Regions from separate parts of the Homo sapiens genome. Here region 2 is linked to region 1. Evidence: promoter capture Hi-C in human tissues and cell types (Jung and others, 2019). All regions are on one chromosome and are shown on one strand. Each heading gives the region's core, a stretch centred on a gene start or on the middle of the fragment in contact. The rest is flanking DNA. Distances are from core to core; before and after follow the strand shown.

Evidence for each region. Contacts are between HindIII fragments. The study calls those that stand out against the background at their distance.
Region 2: a contact is called between a fragment that was not itself captured here and the fragment with the promoter of RAB6B in region 1, in 2 of the 25 tissues and cell types used here (aorta and stomach).

What each region holds. Positions count from the first base shown.
Region 1 is chr3:133,894,632-133,897,519 of GRCh38, forward strand. It overlaps RAB6B (RAB6B, member RAS oncogene family), which reads right to left and starts at 1,251. Exons shown (of 8, transcript NM_016577.4): 1 at 766-1,251. The coding sequence starts at 835. RefSeq lists a silencer at 1,221-1,270. The HindIII fragment of the contact is 14,643 bases long and covers 1-2,888 here.
Region 2 is chr3:134,185,151-134,188,038 of GRCh38, forward strand. The region is part of intron 9 of RYK (receptor like tyrosine kinase); the gene reads right to left. Among named protein-coding and RNA genes, the nearest start is that of RYK, 64 kb to the right of the region's middle. The HindIII fragment of the contact is 4,811 bases long and covers 1-2,888 here.

The sequences.
Region 1 (2,888 bases), core at 1-2,500:
GGTGCCCCTGTATCATTCCCCAAATCGCCTCGAGTTGGGGTAGCCCTCACTGCAATTGCCCAGATCCCTGGGCAGCAAGGAGACTAACAAGCGCCGGCGAAGGGCAGCGGGTCTAGAACCTTCTGTGCCCAGTCGGACGTGAGCCAGGGGAGGTAGGCTCCCCGTTCCCCCATGGCCTGCACTCGCTCTTTCGAGCAGAGACAGGTGTCGCTCTTTTCTCCCCGGTGGCTGTTTGTCCCACGCCCTGGACGTGCCCTTTCGCATGGTTCCCAGCAGGGTCCGCAGGGAACACCCCTCCAGTGCAGCGGAGTGAGGCCCGGCCAGACCCCAGCTTCGCTTCGTTCTCCAAGGGGGGCGCCCGTCGCTCTCCCCACCCCCGCCAGCACCCAGCCACCTGCGCGGTCGCCCGCAGCCGGTGCCGCAGTGTGAGCTAGCCAGCGAGCCCGGTTCCTTCACGCCCTGGCCAGCGCCGCGGAGCCAGCCGCCGCCCTCCGGGCCCCCTGCAGCGCCGCACCTGCACCCACACCCCGGGCCCCCCACCCAGAGCCCACCCTCACCTCCACCCCAGGCTCCAGCGCCTCCTCCGTCCTCACCCTTGGCCCCTCCCCAGCCCGACCCCGCCCCGACCTCCCCATCCCTGTCCCTCTCCTCTACCCTGGCAAGGAGGGGCCTTTCCGAGCCTGGGCCGGGGGTCCCAATGGGGTGGGCGATTGGGCGGCGGGGGTCGACTCGGCGACAAGCCAAGAGATTAAGCCGGGTACTTACCGCTCTGCTCCCCCAAGAACACCAACTTGAATTTTCTCAGTGGATTCCCAAAATCTCCCCCTGCGGACATGGTGCTGGCAGCCGGGGCCGGGAGAGGAGGAGGAGGAAAAAGCGAAGGAGCAGGGAGGGGAGAGTAGGAGGGCGAGGGGAGGCGGCCGGCGGTGCGGGAGCCGGAGGGGGAAGGGCTGGCTGCGCGCGTCCCTGACTCCCCAGCTGCGTCCCGGTCCCGGCCTGCGGCTGCGTGTCCGGCGGCGGAGGAGGAGGAGGAGAGAGAGGCGGAGGCGGAGGAAGGCTGGGGCTGGGCTGCTGCGGTCGGCACTGGCTGCGGTGCGAGGGGCGCGCTCTTTACGCCCGAGGCGCGGCGCTGGGAGAGAGGCGCGGGCGGAGCGGGGCGCAGGGACGGCGCGCGGGGCGGAGGAGCGCTCTCCAGAGCCGCGCCAGTCGGCCCCCTCCCGCCTGCCTCCTCCGCCGGCGCCTGCGCTCTGTGCGCTCCCCAGCCTCTGATGTCATGCGGGGCCCGCGGGGCTGCGGGGCTGGGGGGCGTGCGCCCGCCCACCCGAGCCCGCACCCGGGCAGGAGAGAACCTCCTCGCCGTACCCCTGAGAGCCCCCCGGGGGGGACCGTGTCTCGCTGCCCCGCTGCGTCTGTCTTCCCCACTCTACCCCTCTTTTGAATCCAGAAAATGACAGAAATTGTCAGGGGACATTTGTTTCTGGTCTTTTAAACCTAGATGCCAGTCCCTTCCTCCACCTCGCGAGACACCGATGCACAGCGCAGTCGTCCGACCGACAGGGCGGAAAGGAACGAAGGTGGGGGAGAGCCAGGGTGTGGCGAGGCCCGTCAGGGCGGTCAGACCTAGGGAAACCTGGCGTACTTGGCGCAGATGGGGCTCGACTCTTGCCCCCCGTGGCTTCTAGCCCGCCCTTCCCTCTCGAGGCCTAGACCCTTTATTTGGGCGGCCTCTTGTGGAGTCTGTGGGTGCCCCCGCAGACCTGGCCAGCGAGAGAGGAGCTGCCAATATCAGGCGCGCCTACCTCAAACCAGCTGCTCATTTGGATCATTTTATGCCAAATCCTAACCTGCCCCATGGGAGAGAAGGAACGGTGACGCTCTGAATGCCAGTGCCACTATCTCCAGGACAGTGCCCTGCGTTTCTTGATCCCGGGGTCGCCAGGCTGACAATGCCACTCCCCACCCTGGCAATTAGGTGTATCTGGACAATGAGCTATCTGAGGACATGTGGGCGACCTCTCCTTGGCCTCTACTTGCCTGGTCCATCGAGGCACACAGACCAAGTTGTGAGTGAGTGAGAGCAAAGAGCAGACGCCAAGTGCTAGAAACACTCCCAAGACAGCCCGAGCCTAAGGCATGCTGGTTAATTGAGGTTTTACAAAGCTGTCCCTTACTGTTCTGCCACAGCGTGGTCTTGTTCATTTATGGCTGTTCAGTGAGCATTTATTTGAGATAATAATCTGCATGTCGGTGAACACGATGGTGTGTGCACGCATGTGTTATAGAAAGAGAAAGAGGAGTGAGACACAACCTTCACCTCCAGATTTCTCGTGGACACTTGTTACCCCCTTTTTGACTTATGGGGCTTGCTTGGGCAAGCCTATCTGTCTCCCTGGTGTGCTCACCTCGAATCTCTTTCCTATTTCTTGTTAGAAACCTGACCACAAGTTCCATAAAAGCAGTAGTTGAAGCTCCACCACTGCATCCCAAGGACATAGCTCAGAGTTTAAGAAATAGTTGTTGAATGTTTGAATGAACATCTAGAACTCAAATCAAAATAACTGTCCTATTCTCATAATTACCTTTAGTTTGGAACCCCAGGGATTGTAAGTCATCACCTAGAATATCTGCCCCGTTGTGGCTGGCACCAGGCTCAGGGTAACCCTCCAGACACCCACCCACTTCTCTGGGGCTCCTGCTCTCTTAGGAGACCATATCCAGCTTGGGGTTGAAGAAAGCTCTGAAAGGAGAGGAGACTCCCAAGTCACAGCCCTTCCCGTCTCTATAAGTGATCCCTCCAAAGAAGGGCCAGTGAGCTACTGGCCAAGGTACCCAGCCATGCAACACTCCTCCAACCTGCACCTTCTCCTAACATCTAGTGCTGTCTCCCT
Region 2 (2,888 bases), core at 123-2,622, 290 kb after region 1:
TAAATAATAATTTATAAAGCTTCGGACCAATGCAATAAGAGGAAGAGAGAAATGTAAAAGACTGGCAAAGCCAAGATTCATATTCTAGACCCACCTAGGAAAATGCTGAACCAACAATAAAACCCACCCCACTGAATTCAGATACTATGATTGTCACATTTGGTCTTTAAATGTGGAACTGTCAAAGCTGAGAAATCTCAAATTTCATTTACTTCCACATCTACCCATTGGAATCTCATTCCTGCTTCACTTCGTCTTGCTTCACTTCCATTACTTGCTACTAAGTGTCCCCTTTCCAAGCAACTTCTCTTAGTTAAGACTTTTGTAGGAATGTAAAATGGGTAGACAAAAAGCCAAGGATCTGAAACATTCGGTACTTCTTTGGAAAAGGTGCTTCATATCAATGTCTGCTGGAATAAACTCTAAGTGTCTACAAACTGCTTGTGGGATTTCTTAGTAAATAGCAAAATGTGCCTTTATTACTCTTTCTATAACCTAAATAATTTCTAATGAAATTATGGCCAGGACTACTGGAGGCTAGTAGGATCTTTTCAAGACTGAAAACTAGTAATAGTTGGAGGTCCCTGCCCAGTTAAAAAGACTTTTACCATTCCCTCAACTGGTAAGGAGATCTAAGTACAACAAATGGTAATTTCAGAATGTGTCATTTTATACTTACTTTTTTCAAGTTTTTATTTTGATAAGCATGTTCTATTAAAGCAAAGGACACTTGAATGATGATCTAAGAAAACTCAATTAAAGATAAAATAACTTTATCCATTTAGTAAGAAAAACTCGTTTTCTTGGATTCCTTTCCCAGTCTCATCCTAGTCTTTTAATTACATAATGAAAGGTCTATCTTCAAGATGTACACATTTGAAAAGGGTACTATTAAATATATTCTAAAAGTTACAAGGATGCACAAAATGATTTTTAAAAACAAACACTTGCTTATTTACAAAACTATAAAAATTTAGTAGCTATAATAAAGAAAATAAGAACTTAATACCAGTAAATCCAAACTGATTCATTTATTTTATGGAATTCAATTTCACAATATTTAGTGTGTAAGATTCGGGTTGCTAATTTCAATCTCTGGAAATTTATACTGGAGTATCTATGAAGTCTCTGTATAAAATTATGAATATTTTTAAAAGCCAAACTCCAATTTTCTGCTTATGCCTAAAGGCAAAGGTCAGTGCTTTCTAAAACACTGTTTTTTTATTTTATGCTAAACTTCTAATTGTGCAACATGTAACAAAGCATACAGATTTGTGAAAGACCTTGGTCAGCTCTATGTGGCTACAACTAAAACCATAAAAACAGCATTCCAAAATAATCAATCTCAGAGACAGTCATGTGGCGCTATCTCTCTAACAAATTTGAGGCAATGCACTTCCCCTCTGTCCCCCATAAGGACTCACTGTGCTTTCTCTTATTTCCGCACAGCTCACAGAGAACATTATAATTACAGTGGTAAAGCACAGAAACAACCAGTGACTACAAGTCAAGCATATACGGAAAGAGAAGTCTTATCTTGTGAAACAGTCCAAGTATACTCATTGTGTTTTCTTATCACTATTATTTCCTTTTATCTCCCCTTCCAACCCTAAATCAACCCAATTTTGTATAAAAACCTCCTTCCTTAATTCAGAACAAGTCAATAATAGCCCAGTTCTACACAGTCTATAGAATACTTACAAACCCCGGAAGAAATATTTGAATTAAGGAGTTTCCTTAAAAAAAAAATGAGAAAAGAGTAACAAAAGGCTGTTGTTTAATAACCTTATAGTTCAAATTTTACATTTACAAAAAGTAATATGTAAACTCTCCTAGTCAGAAAACCTACTGGGACCTAACTTACACTTGGTCTTAGCCGAAAGGATGGACCTAACACATAAATATTACCCTTTAAAAGTGTTTTTGGTGCTGGGAAGGGGTGAATGAATAAAATAAATATTGAATGATATAGTAAATTAAACCACTTGTTTAGAAAATATTAAAGAGGTGTGTGTGTATGGATGTATTTGTAGCAGCCTTAAACAAACAATTTTGTTCAATTAAAAGCAATTCCAAAGATTTTTTGTTAGATTGGTATAACCCAACTTTTTACAACCAATAAACATAAACCCTTCATACTTTCCATGTATTCCTTTAAGTAAATTTAGAAACAGTTCTTATAAATTAACTTCATAAACTGTATAAAATTTTATCACTTTCTACTCATAAAACTGAATTTAATCTTCCCTTCAGTTTCTGAAGGGAAAGTGCTAAATTTGTTTTTAGATATTATTAGCATGTCTTCTCAATTTACATCAGACCTGATAGACATTAAGCACCCTATAAATTATCACATTTTTCTTTCTCTCTAGATAAGCAAATAAGACTTACCTCAGAATTATTATCATCATTTTTAAAAATTAAAACAGGATCTTGCTCTGTCACCTAGGCTGGAGTACAGTGGCATGATCAGGGGTCACTGCAGCCTTGAATTCCTGGGCTCAAGCAATCCTCCTGCCTCATCCTCCTGAGTAGCTGGGACTACAGGTATATGCTACCACACCCAGCTACTTTTTTTTTTTTTTTTTGTAGAGACGGGGGGTCTTGCTATATCGCCCAGGCCGATCTTGAACTTATGGACTCAAGCAATCCTCCTGCCTTAGCCTCCCAAAGCATTGGGATTACAATTGTGAGCCACTGCACCCAGCTCTTAATTCAGAACTATTTAAGCTTTCACAAGCATCTGTTGTAAGTAATTAAAATTCTAGTATTTTTTAAAGTCTTGCAAATCTACCAGTAATAGGAAATAAGCCATATGCCTGCATAAATAACACTGTAGTATCTTGATAGGGAATCTTTAATTAAATAACTTATACACATCAATAAAT